Linked DNA regions of Homo sapiens: regions 2 and 3 are each linked to region 1. The links are contacts of gene promoters, found by promoter capture Hi-C in human tissues and cell types (Jung and others, 2019). All regions are on one chromosome and are shown on one strand. Each heading gives the region's core, a stretch centred on a gene start or on the middle of the fragment in contact. The rest is flanking DNA. Distances are from core to core; before and after follow the strand shown.

What was found. Contacts are between HindIII fragments. The study calls those that stand out against the background at their distance.
Region 2: a fragment that was not itself captured here is called in contact with the fragment with the promoter of SOX21 in region 1 in 2 of the 25 tissues and cell types used here (H1 embryonic stem cells and mesenchymal stem cells).
Region 3: a contact is called between a fragment that was not itself captured here and the fragment with the promoter of SOX21 in region 1, in 2 of the 25 tissues and cell types used here (heart left ventricle and mesenchymal stem cells).

Annotation. Positions count from the first base shown.
Region 1 is chr13:94,711,078-94,715,488 of GRCh38, forward strand. SOX21 (SRY-box transcription factor 21) reads right to left here and starts at 1,468. Exons shown (of 1, transcript NM_007084.4): 1 at 1-1,468. The coding sequence starts at 972. The coding sequence ends at 142. SOX21-AS1 (SOX21 antisense RNA 1) reads left to right here and starts at 1,639. Exons shown (of 2, transcript NR_046514.1): 1 at 1,639-2,316; 2 at 2,561-4,411. It overlaps LOC112268114 (a long non-coding RNA gene), which reads right to left and starts at 2,366. Exons shown (of 2, transcript NR_158368.1): 1 at 2,331-2,366; 2 at 1,643-2,185. RefSeq lists an enhancer at 2,192-2,693. The HindIII fragment of the contact is 11,141 bases long and covers 1-4,411 here.
Region 2 is chr13:94,832,167-94,836,577 of GRCh38, forward strand. The region is part of intron 2 of LOC101927284 (a long non-coding RNA gene); the gene reads left to right. Among named protein-coding and RNA genes, the nearest start is that of SOX21-AS1, 120 kb to the left of the region's middle. The HindIII fragment of the contact is 4,155 bases long and covers 1-3,861 here.
Region 3 is chr13:94,812,566-94,816,976 of GRCh38, forward strand. The region is part of intron 2 of LOC101927284 (a long non-coding RNA gene); the gene reads left to right. Among named protein-coding and RNA genes, the nearest start is that of SOX21-AS1, 100 kb to the left of the region's middle. The HindIII fragment of the contact is 8,611 bases long and covers 1-4,411 here.

The DNA.
Region 1 (4,411 bases), core at 218-2,717:
CCTCTACCTGGCACCTATACATTCTATGTACATACAAACCGGGCCCCCGGTCGCGGGAGGGCGCACGGGGAGGCCGCAGCGCTCGTACCTATACATATGTACACGTGTGCACACCGGTCCTCGCGAGGCGGCCCCGCGGGGTCATAGCGCGGCAGCGTAGGCCGCGGGGTAGGGGTCCAGCTGGGGCTTGCCCATGCCCGGCAGCAGGATGTAGGCGAGCGGCGGCTGCAGCCCGGGGCTGGGCCACGCGCTGCAGTTGCACGGGATCATGTAGCCCGGGTTGCCCGGGCTGGGGTGCGAGTGCGTGTGCCCCCCGGCGGCGGCGGCCGCCGCTGCAGCCGCCGCCGCCGCGCCGTGGAAGGCGCCCGCGCCCGCGGTCGGGTAGCCCAGCGACGACGCGTACGGGAGGCCGGACGAGGACGACGAGATCTCTGCCATTTTGGAGCCCAGGTCGAGCAGCGAGTAGGGGCTGCCCGCGGCGGCGGCGGCGGCGGCAGCGGCGGCGGCAGCGGCCGACTGCGGGAAGAAGACGCGTGCGGCGGCAGCGGCGGCGGCCGCGGCCGCCTTCTCGGGATTGGCGAGCAGCGACTCAGGCACCAGGCCGCCGCCCGCCCCCGCGTGCAGCCCGGCGCCCGCCTTGAGCGCAGGGTGCTCGGCGTCCGCCACGCCGCCCAGGCCGTAGGGCACCGGGAAGGCGAACTTGTCCTTCTTGAGCAGCGTCTTGGGCTTGCGCCGCGGCCGGTACTTGTAGTCGGGGTGCTCCTTCATGTGCATGGCGCGTAGACGCTTGGCCTCGTCGATGAACGGCCGCTTCTCCGACTCTGTGAGCAGTTTCCACTCGGCGCCCAAGCGCTTGCTGATCTCCGAGTTGTGCATCTTGGGGTTCTCCTGGGCCATCTTGCGCCGCTGAGCCCGCGACCACACCATGAAGGCGTTCATGGGCCGCTTGACGTGGTCCACCGGCTTGGACATGCTCTCGCCCTGCCGCGGCTGCAGCCCGCCGCCTCCCGGGCCCTCGCCCTCGGCCCGGAGGAAATCAATGTTGGCTGCCCGCGGAGACCCGCTCGGCCGGCCGGGGCTCGTCGCGCCCCGGCGTCGCTCCCGCCCCGGAGGAGGGGGCTGGGGGACCAGCCCAGGGCCACGCCGCGCCCCGGGCCGCCTTAGTGTCTCCGGCCGAGCGCTCGAGCAGGTTGTCTCTGGGACACTCTAACTTCTCGGCGGTGCCCCCTCCCCGCGGCGGCAGTTTGCCCTTTACGTTCTTTGGGTCCTTCGTCTGCAGTGGCGTTTGCTGGTGAGCTCCCCGCAGGTAGCGGCGGCCGGGCAGAGCGCTCCTCCTCCTCGGTCGTTCTCTCTTAAATGCAAAGCGTCCCCAAAAGTTGCGTCGCGGAGACTCCTCGAAGTTGAGCCGAGGAGCCCGCCGCCGCGTGCTGCCAAGTGCCAAAGGGGGCTCTCAGCGGCTGGAGTGTTTGGGTTCTCCTCGGTGACTTTCTCATTTGACAGAAGCAGATGGGGGTGGGGAAGGCGGGGAGGTGGCCCTGGAGGAGGAAGAGGAGGGGGAGGCGGAGGAGTGTCCAGGCGTGCCACGAGAACGCAGAGCGCAGCAATGGATATAAATACAAATACAGCAGCACCAGCCTGTCTTCTTGGCTCCGGGCAGGGTGCGCCGATGGGAAACCCCCAATCGGCTGGGTGATTTTTTTTTTTTGGAGGGGGGAGCTGTCCCCCGCAGCACCTGCCTCTCGAGTCTTCCTCTCCCGCTGCTGGACTGACGGGTGGGGCGAGGAAGGAGGGTGGATGAGGCTTGAGCAAGCGTTGGTCGCCCGGCCTCAGAGGAAGTTCTCCCGGCTCGCCGAGGAGCCGCGTCCGGCCGTCCCCTGGGCCATGCCGGCTCTGTTCGCTCCGAGCCCCTTCAGGCGCGCCTGCCGACTTAGGGCTCCCGGAGCTCGCCGGCCGCGGAGGGCAGCGCAGCCTCCACGCGGCGCCGCAGGCCTGGCACCGGCCGCGTCCCCGCCTCGCTCTTCTCGGCAGCCGCCTGGCACTTGCAACTAACTTCGCCCAAGTTTCCTGCGCCGCGGCGCCCCTCTCGGCGCGCTCCTGGGAGCGTGCGCCCGCGAGTCCGCCGCGCCCGGGGCCCCTCTGTCCTCGCTGCTGTGGCCAGAGCCGAGCCGGCGCAGGGGCGGAGGTGCTGCAGGAGAGTTAAGGAAAACGGGCCATCACCTCAGTTCGCAGGTCCGCGCTGTGGCACCTCCCGCTCTCCCCACTCCCGCGGCGCAGGGGGCCCCTTCCCAGCCCAGGCCGCCCTCTGCACCGGCTCAGGTGAGTGTGGCTACCTGCATGTGTGCGCGCCCGGAGCCGGCACTGGGTGTGCATGTCCAGCCGCGGCTGTGTGTGTATATCTGGGGGCCTGCGGAGGAGGTGGAGCCCAGGACTCGGGGAGGGAGGAGGGATCAGCGGAGCCGCCTCCCGCTCCCACACCCCCAGGACCTCGAATTAACAGATCCCCTCCGCCCCCCGCCCCCTCCCAATCCTCCTCCTCCCACTCCTTTTCACTTGAGAGCAGGTTTAGGCGAGTGGAGAGTCCGGAGCGCGCCGGGGAGTCTGCGCCCTGTTTGGCGTTGGCAAACCCTGGTGTCATCCCGGCTACCCAGGCCGGCCTGGCGTGCAGCTGCCCTGGTTGTGGCCCTGGAATCCTCGCCGGGAGGAAGAAGGCGGCGGGCACGAGTAGGAGAGCCTCTCCAGCTACGGAGGAAGAGGGTTAAACCTGGAGAAGGGGAGACTCACCCTTGAAAATGTTTGAGACTGTTCCTAGCAAGAAAGTGCTCATTTTCCTTGGAGGTCCAGGTGTTGCTTGCAACAGAAACAGAGGCTTCTCGCATTTTCTTGCACTGGCGATGCACCTAGTCAGAGGTAGTGGAGTGAAAAATAACTCTGGAGGGAATAAGGACATTCTTGGCAACCTTTCCAAAAAAGAGCTAGCCCAGACTGAGAGTATGCATCCTTGACTGACTATTCAGCTCTTTAAAAATTCTGTGTTGTTTGTCTTTTGTTGTAATCTTGGTCGCCAGAACCATCTATATACTGATCTCTTTAAGGTACAGTTAACTTACAGTGTCTCACTTACATGCGCTGCTGAGGTGAAGGTGTTTAAAATCAATAAGTGTAAGTAGTTTCCCTGGAAGAGAGAAGTAAAACGTACCAATCACTCAGTGCTGGAATATTTTTATGCTAAGCATAATTTCCTTCTTTAGTAGTTAGAGCAGTTTTTTAAAAAAAATAGTTAACACGATGCAGAAGTCAAACAGCATGATTCTGTTTCCGTATTTTCCTCACTTTTTGGTATGCTGCGGCACATTTAGAACATGATCTGTCTGGAGGTTTTATTCACATGGTGGCCTGCCCTTCAGGGAGAACTTGCTTGCCTTCTTTCTTTGGCAGTTTGGATTTGACCTAGCCCTGTGGTATGTGCAAGTAGGAACATCTACAAACGGTTAACTCTTTAAGTCTTCCTACGATTTATGTTCAGTTCATTCACACACACACACACACACACACACACACACACACAAAAGCTTTGATTGTAATTATGAACGTGAATTAAAACTGTTTCAGGCCATCAGATTTATGTAAAAGTTAGGCTTGTTTTGTTCATTTTAATAAAAGAATAGTGACTTAAAAATTACAGTCGTGATAACAAAACTGTGAACAGCAGTGGCATCTATGTGGGTTTTTGTTTTTCTGAAGATGTCGTATTGACAAGCTTATTTTGTATCGGTTATGCCCTTGCATTGTTAAAATAATTGGACTGATTTCTCCAGAACCATATTCCTTTACAGGCTCTGTAAAGACACTCTTGTCATTCACAGACTCTGGCTGGAGCAATGGGAAAACACTAGCATGTGTAATTACATAGACTGGAATATTAAATATACTGTTTTGTGATGATAAACTACAAAATTATCGTCCCTGAGCTTTTCACCTACTGACTTATAGGTTTGAGACAAAAATACTATACACTGGAACATAAAGAACATATGTATATATAGGCCACAAAACATGAAATCTGTTATTCACTAAATATTGTGAATAAAGTTAAATTTAATCGTGAAAATTATTTTGACACATAAAAAGGGAGAAGGATTGTGAAAATGTGTTTTATATTAGTGAGTTAAGTGATTTTATACTATTCAAATTTAAGTGTAAAAATCTACTGCAATAAATTATTACATTAGAAATGTTTGTATATATGATTGAAATGTATGCTTACATGTGCAATGTCTTATAGGAATAATATATGTAAGGTTCCTTGGCTATAGTTTTTTCCAGTATACATTTACAATATTGTCTGTCTAGTGATATTAAATGAGCCAAATTTGAACACTCTCAAGTCCAAGAATGTTGAACTGTGGGAAAC
Region 2 (4,411 bases), core at 534-3,033, 120 kb after region 1:
GTGGGGAAAAATTCACAATGAGTGAGGATGTCACTCACAGATCGACAGGGTATGTATTTACTGTTCAGCAAAGGCAGCAAAAAGAATCACATAGATTCAGAGCACAGGCCTGGATTACAGACTTCCTGTATGTGAGAACATGGAATGGATTTCAAAAAAGGAAAAAAGAAAAGAAATCACAACGAAACAAAGCGAAGCACACAACTCGGAAGTTCCAGAAAACTCAAAAGCCTGAGTGAAAGCACGGTCTGGAACCCTATCTACTTACTCTATGTATGGACTTTAGCCAAAGACCAAATAGTTTTTGATTTACTATTGTCACTCAGCTATCTATTCAAAGCTCTACTGAGAATAGAATGCAAATATCATTTGGTGAGTCTGAACTAGGAGACAGCATAATAGTACGTGTATTTTCCTGCTACTACAAGTTTGTCACCATAGAAAGTCACTACAGAAGATTCCCCAGGGAAATGGGCAACATCCACAACTGCAATCAAACAATACCAAGTGGGACTCTTTGAAAGAAGTACTGAAAATGAAACCAAAGCACGTTCATCCTAATAGCTAAAATTTACTGAATGTTCACTATGCTGAACGCTGTACTTGCCCTCTTATCTTGCAACAACTCTAGGTCGTACATATTAGAAATTAAGGTATAGGGAGGTAAAATAATTTGTCCAAGCCAAGAAAAGAATATGGGTTGAATTGTGTTTCCCCTCATCCCGAAATTTGTATGTTGAAGTTCTAACCCCCAGGACCTCAGAATCTGACTTCATCTGGAAATCAGGTTGTTGCAGATTTAATTAGGTATACCATGAGTTCAGACTGGCCCCTTTATGTAAAGGGAGAACTTGGACATAGACACACACACACACACACACACACACACACACACACACAGAGAGAGAGAGAAAGAAAGAAGACCATGAGAAGATGAAGATGGAGATCAGATGATTCTTCTACAAGCCATGGGACAACAAAAATTGCCAGATAACCCACCAAAAGCAAGGGGAGAGGCATGGAACAGATTCTCCCTTGCAGCCCTTAGAAGAAACCAACCCGGTCCACACTTCGATATTAGATTTCTGGCCTCCAGAATGGTGAGACAATACATTTCGGTTGTTTAAGGCACTCAGCTGTGTGGCCACTTGGTTGTGCAGGTACCCTGACTTCCCGGAGGGGGTTGTTCACCTGGCACCTTCCCTCACACCCACAGAGGGAGAACAGTGACCCTCAGATGGACATTCACTTATGCATGGGCTTAGATTCCAGACATGGCCCTGCTCAAAGCCCAGATGGGAGCATTTCATATAATGAGGCCTTTTCTGTCTGGCTACTAGTGGGCTCTCTTGATATTTAAGAGTTGCTTTTTGATTCAATTATCCCACAGAGTCAGGGAAAATTGGTAATACACAGATTGCCAATATGCAAGAGGAAACATAAGTCAGGTCTGGAAAAAGAGAATCTCCTTTCAAGCCTTGGATCCTGCATGTGACCTAAAGTGACACCATCTTCTCTCAGAATCTATTTCATTTACTGACTTACATGGGACGAAGGGGGCTCCTTTGGGGAAGGGGACACGAGTTCTGCCCAGAGTTATTGGTCAGACATAGTGACATGATCGGATTGGAGGAGGGAGAGGTGACAGAAACAAGTTTCTATTCAAAGGGAAGGAGAAGGGCAGAGTCAGCCAGACCGAGCAGTGGATCTTTGACAGGGGCCGTAGTTTCCTGGGCATTGTTGCTGCCTCGAACAAACTGGGGTTCATGTGAAGAGGAAGAATTGCTTCACGAATCTTTTAGGATGTTGGGCCCAAGCTTTACACAATAAAATTCTCACCCTGCCATCCCATCCTCCCTCTTCAATCAGCAGAGATGAGCTGAATGAGCACGGTCTGCCTTCTCCCTTCCTAAGAGCCTGCCCAGCAGCACCAGCCTCGCCAGGGTCAGAGCATCATCAGTCACTTGGTGAATCTCAAACGGAATCTGCACCAAGATGGCCACTCGCACTCAAGTAGAAGTGCCATGGTTAGCTCATGTTAGAGAACAGAGCTGTTCCTGATTTCATTCCTTTGTATGCTGGGGCAAAAGCAACCTTGCTGTGAGACCTTTCCCAACGGAGAATAACAGAGAAAGAAGGAATGTTTGCCTTCCAACCCCACAAGGTCCGCCTGGCTGGCAGGTGAGGAGGCAGGAAAATGCCGGCTCTGACTGGCACCAGGAAGGCAGTGGCTAAGTCAGGAGGTGCCGAATTCCAACTCTAGTAGCCCAGGGATGTTGTCATTTGGTCAGAGCCCCAGTATGACAAGAGAAAGGAAGATACTGATTCAAGAAAACATGTAAAATACCTCTCGCGAGTTAGCAGAAATATTTGGAGAGAGGTGATCCTCAAGGAAGTGGACTTCCTGCATGTTCAGGTCAGGGGTGAGAGCCATGGGAACTTGGATGTTCCTGCTGAGATGACCGTGTTGTGCGCACAGGCCAGTGGGGCATGGGGCATTTTGGTGGTTGCTTACTGTCACTTTCTAATGGGTGTAATTACAGAACAACTTGTTCCTTAAAAGCTAATTCCCAAGACCTCAGTGAGAAGAGTGAAATTCTGATTCCTTCTCCTCATAAAGTCTCTGTATCTCAAAAAGTGAGTTCTGTGAAACCTCGTCTCTACTAAAAATACAAAAAGTACCTGGGCATGGTGGCATGTGCCTGTAATCCCAGCTACTCAGGAGGCTGAGGCAGGAGAATTGCTTGAACCGTGACTCAGGAGGTAGAGGTTGCAGTGAGCCAAGATCGCGCCACTGCACGCCAGCCTGGGCTGCAGAGCGAGACTCCATCTCAAAAAAAAAAAAAAAAAAAAAGTATTGCCTACTAATCCAAGATGGCGGACTAAACACAGACGTTTACTCTCCTGTCCACCAAAATGCCATTCGGATGACAACAAAGAAGAACAAAATTGAGTAAGTGAGCTTGAGAGGAGGGGGAAAAGGAGCATCAATGGAGCAGAAAGGCCGATGGATTTCCGGCAATTGGGAAGGAGAAGGAATGATGTTGAGGGATGATGCCTGGAGCAGGATGTGCTGGTTCCTGAAGGAGGAGTGGGGATGGGAACATTCTTTTGCGGGATGAGCCAGAGAGAGGCTCCAAGCACAGGGGTGGCAACATAGAGTAGGAGTGAGTGACACATAGGCAGAAACGGAAGTGGTTCATTGAAGGGTAGTTTCTGGAACACTTACCCAAATGGGCTCTTTTTCCCCCATCCCTACCCACTACAAGTATGGGCAGGATCTTTAGTCTCAGATTAAAATCAGACATTGCTCTGTGAAGAAATAATTGGTTGGAGAGATCTAGGGAACAGAGAGTGACTATGGATACTTAGAGCTAAGACTTCTTTATTTTGGCATAAAAAAGAAATGTTTTACCAGCTCCCTGCCAACAGACCATAAAGTCGACATGCCCTATAGGCACACACATTTCTTATAGTCATCTGCCTTTTAAGAGAAGGCCTGGAAAGAAAACAGGACTACCCATATCTAGAAGCCATCCACACAAGCTTCTTAATTAGGATCGTATATGACAAAGGTAGGTTTAGATGCTGTACTGTGGTTTCAGCTACATGGGAGGCTGAGGCAGGAGGATCATTTGCGCTGAAGATGTCTAGGCTGCAGTGAGCTGTGTTTGTACCACTGCACTCCAGCGAGACCATGTCTCAATAGAATAATAAAAAATGATGCTGTAACAAGATACCTAACAATTATTCAGTAGCTTAAGAAATATAAGGATCCATTTTCCTATCCAGCAGCCATACAATCAGCAGGCGGCTCTTTTCATGCAATCGTTCTGGAGAGCAGTTCAGCCATCGTCAACCATGGTACCCGGGATCACTTCAGTCTGCAGAAAGAGGGGATGAAATTGTGAAGGGGTCATGATCATGCTCTTGAAAGTATCCACCTAGAAGAGGCTCATTACCTTGGATAGAACACTTAACTGCAAACATGTCTAGAAAATACAGTCTAGCCATGACCCAAGAAGAGCAGATTTTGGTGGACAGATAGCCGCCTCTGCACAAACGCAACAAAAGACAGCCAGAAATTCAATGATAAACTATGGCACCGGAGAGAAGGCATCAGAACAAAAAACAGGACAACCAACTTCAGAGCTTATGCAGTGAACATAAAAGAAGCTTCAAAAATTCTACTTGGAATTTTAAGAAGATACTGCATTCTTAAAAAAAAAAAAAAAATGGACATTCTAAGGTCACACCTCAAGGAACTAGAGAAACAAGAACAAACCAAGCCCAAACCCAGCAGAAGAAAGGGAATAACCAAGATCAGAGCAGAACTAAATGAAATTGAAACAAAAAAATACAAAAGATAAATGGAAAAAAAGCTGGTTCTTTGAAAACATAAATGAAATTG
Region 3 (4,411 bases), core at 912-3,411, 100 kb after region 1:
TCTCACCATATGACATGCCTGCTCCTGATTCACTTTCCACTGTAATTGGAAGCTTCCTGAGGCCTCGCCAGAAGCAGATACTGGTGCCATGCTTCTTGTACAGTCTGTAGAACCATGGGCCAAATAAACCTTTTTCTTTATAAATTATCCAGCCTTAGGTATTCCTTTATAACAACACAAAATGGACTTAACACACTCCACCATTGGCCAGAGGGAAGCCCCCTACCTTCTCTAACACCGTCTTTGACATTTTATTACATCATCCTCTGTGCCCTTGACTTTAATTCCTATCCCAGCATTTTCCACAGTTTCTGGCATATATTGGAAGTGAGTGTGCATATATGGATATGTTCAGATGGATAACATGTTTCTTTCATAAGCCTCCATTACTTTTTGAAACCAAATTGAAAAGACCTAAATTTAGCTTTCTGTTTTATGCATTATATATAAAAAACATAACTGAAAACAATCCTTTCACACTCTAGACATTTATGATCATTTACAAACTACAAACTACAAACTGAATAAGAAGAAATGCAGTGGTCCCTTTTAATTTGGAAATCCACTCTGTAGACGAAGACTAACTTAATATGACACAAACTAAAGTCTTTGCCAGCATGGATCTTTTTTCATCCAAATTGTTAGAGTTCACAAAAACTTATTAATCTAGAAGCATCTACCAATGTAGCAAGAAAGACTGTATAAAGAATCAGGTGGTGGAAGGCCAGACTCCAGCTGTGTACTGAAATCTCACATCTGCCAAACCTGTGGATGATATAAAGTTAACCATCTTTTCCCCACTGCTTGGAAATCCCACCTTTGTCATATGCGATTTCTCCACATGTTTTTGTCTCTTTCTGGACTTTGTTCTTGTCCATTGATTTGTCTAATCCCACTAATTATAGTAGCTTGATAATATATTTTAATGTCTTGGAGGGCTGGTCTCTCCTCCTTACTCTTTTTTTTAGGAGTTTTGAGTATTTTTAAAACATTTGCTTTTCTATATGATACTTGGAAATAGCTTGCTGAGTTAAAAATATCCCACTGGCCTTTTAAGTGGGATTGTTATAAGTTTATAGATTATTTAAGGGAAGATGGAGATCTGTGTAATGCTGAATCTGTCTGTACAAGAAGAGGCTGTGTCTTTCCATTTATTCAAAACTTCTTTATGATTGTCAGGAGAAATATAAAATATATATATTTCACACACATAAACATCGTGAACTTATTACGTTGTATTATAATTTCTATTTATTTGTCATTTTCCTTGGATAAAGTATCAGCTCTTTCAGGGCAGCTCTTTATTAATTACTAAACCCCAACACCATGGGCCGTGCTAATGTGCAGTCAATTTCAATAAATAAACTGATGAAATAACTAAAATTAAACATGAATTTTCTGTGACCATCCCATCTAAATAAATATGAATGTGAGGCAGTAGAGGCACTTGTGTATAATTACCGTGCACCAGCTTTCAAAACCGAATCTTGCTCTAGCTCCTCCTAACTCTCACCCCAGAGTTCCCCACCAGATGTTAAAGGCCAAACCAACCATTAAAAAGACAAGTGACACTCATGTCTCTATGTAAATAAAAATTGTGAAAGTACTTTAAGGGAGTTCCCCTTGAATATTTCTTTCCTTTAAGGGACAAAAGCAAATTGACTGCCAGCGAAGAGCCCTTTAGTCCAGAAATTCTTCATAGCAAAGGCACAGAAACTTGAAACAATGTCCTCAGTGCTCTCCCTTTTGTCTGTGGCAATAGAATGGGGATTCTGTACTCCAACAGCTCCTTAGGGGAAAACATCAACACTCCAAAATTTAAACTCCACATAGCTGCATTCAGGGAATGAAAGCCAGACCTGTCGCTGTTCCCAGGACAGAGTGGCTATTGTGGAAAATTGCCCTTTTTAAGAACTTTTGGTGTCCAGGCTCCTGTATGGAGCAGCCTAGATAATATCCCTGCCTTCCCGGCTATGGTCCATCTCCAGATGCCAGCATGGGGGATAAATGTCCACGAGGGTTCTGTCTACCAATGCAAACCTCTTGAGTTTCTGTCTTCAGAAGTGAGGGCCATAGAATAAGAATGAAAATGGACCTTGGTCCTGCTGAGGGGGAAAAACAAGTTGGAATGGAAGGCCGCTACTTCCAACTTAAGCAAAGTTGGAATAGATACTTCCAAAGGTATTGGGCTGACCCCAGATACGTAATGGAATTTTGTAGCATACTTTATTTTGCATTTTTGCAACCAGGTGTTGATAATTACATGTGTAATTATTCAACCTCTTTACTTTATGTATCAAGAAGCTGAGACACAGGGAATGTAAATAACTCATTAGTAATTACATAGCTAGTTAGAGACATAGCTGGGTTGAGAGCTTAGGTGTTCAAGCAAAGAGTCTAATTTTCTTGATTCCGTTACATTGCCATTATTTAATCCCAACACACCTTATATTTGAAAGCATGTTTTAATTAAAATTATTTGCCATTAAATTATATGAAACTAAATCCAGGCTTCCAAGTTTTACTATAAATCTACTTTTAAAAAAAATTAGTACATCTCTAAAATGTTTTAAAAATGTATTTTAGCATACTCTTCCAACTTAAAGTACTTTGTATCAGAGTCAAGGGAGGTAGCAACTGTTGGTCCACACTATTAATACTTTAGGGAAATCTCACTTTATGCCTAGCACATGCATATCATTAAAAAATTGCAACTTAAAACTTTTGAAAAACACCTGTGAAAAAGTATCTTTTTGACACTCTAGAGGTGACAGTGCAACTTTCCGCTACATTCATGAAATTTTTGACAAACTTAAGACAGTCTGGTAATTCACTTTGGAAGTTTTTGGTGCCTGGTGCATGGAAGATTTTATTAGAGAATCTAAAATCATGTCAGATGTTACATAATAAACTTGTTGGCAAAAACTTAGCTTTGGTTTGCATTCTCCTATTATAAACACTGGAGTTAAGAATGAATACAAATATAAACGGCCAGTTGCATATCACGTTTCATGTAGGCATTCGAGATTTGTTCATTCATGATTTAATTAGCCATTTATTGATTTCAGTGTGTCAGATTCTGTGCTAGGCATAAGGAATTAGTGGTAAATAAAATAAAAATGATCCTTACCTTCACGAAGTTTACAGTACAATAAACTTCGGAAATTGTTACCAAAAAAATGGATTGTAATGGGGCTTGGGAATGTATAACAAAGAATGAGGAGAATATTTCTTAAGACCTGAGGCTGGGAGCGGTGGCTCACGCCTGTAATCCCAGCACTTTGGGAGTCCGAGGCGGGCGGGTCACGAGCTCAGGAGATCAAGACCATCCTGGCTAACATGGTGAAACCCTGTCTCTACTAAAAATACAAAAAATTAGCCGGGCGTGGTGTCTGGCGCCTGTAGTCCCAGCTACTCAGGAGGCTAAGGCAGGAGAATGGCATGAACACGGGAGGCGGAGCTTGTAGTGAGCCGAGATCGCGCGACTGCACTCCAGCCTGGGGACAGACAGAGATTCCGTCTCAAAAAAAAAAAAAAAAAAAAAAAAAAAAAAAAAGACTTGAAGGATGAATAAGAATTAGGAGGAGGGGCCAGGTGCGGTGGCCACGCCTGTAATCCCAGTACTTTGGGAGGCCGAGGCAGGAGGATTGCTTGAGGCCAGGAGTGTTAGACAAGCCTGGCCAACATAATGAAACCCTGTGTCTACTAAAAATACAAAAAATGAGCCGGGCGTGGTGGTAGGCTCCTGTAATCCCAGCTACTGGAGAGGCTGAGGCAGAAGAATCACTTGAACCTGCGAGGCGGAGGTTGCGGTGAGCCGAGATTGCTCCACCACTCTCCAGCCTAGAAAACAGAGTGAGACTCTGCCTAAATAAATAAATAAATAAATAAATAAATAAATAAATAAAAGAATTAGGGGAAGAGAGGGAACACATAGAAGAAAGAGCGAAGGAGTGGTAAGAGTAAAAAATGTGTTTTCCTCCCTCTCTATTTAAAGGCCCCTCTGTTACCTTCTACTGTGGACAGTGGCCAAAATGTCCTTCACTGCTTGAAGCCAACACAGAACTGTCCTTCCATGCCACCTTTCTGCTTCCTGCAGGAACTATGCTCACGCTTACCCTTTCTCCATGTTGACAGCTCAGTTAATTTCATCACACTTGGCCTCTTAAAAAGTCTCTACATTCTTCTCCTCCTCTTCCTCTTCTTCCTCCTCCTACTTTTCCTTCTCCCTGTTCTTATAATATGAATAACCAATTAATATATTAAAATGATAAAAAATCCAAATTGCATAAAATAAACAGAGTCTTTTTTCCATCCATCACCTCTCACACTTTCTTTGAAGTAATCCTTTCTCCTTCAGCTTTTAAAAACTATTTGAAATACAAAAAATAAAAATATATAATTAAAATAT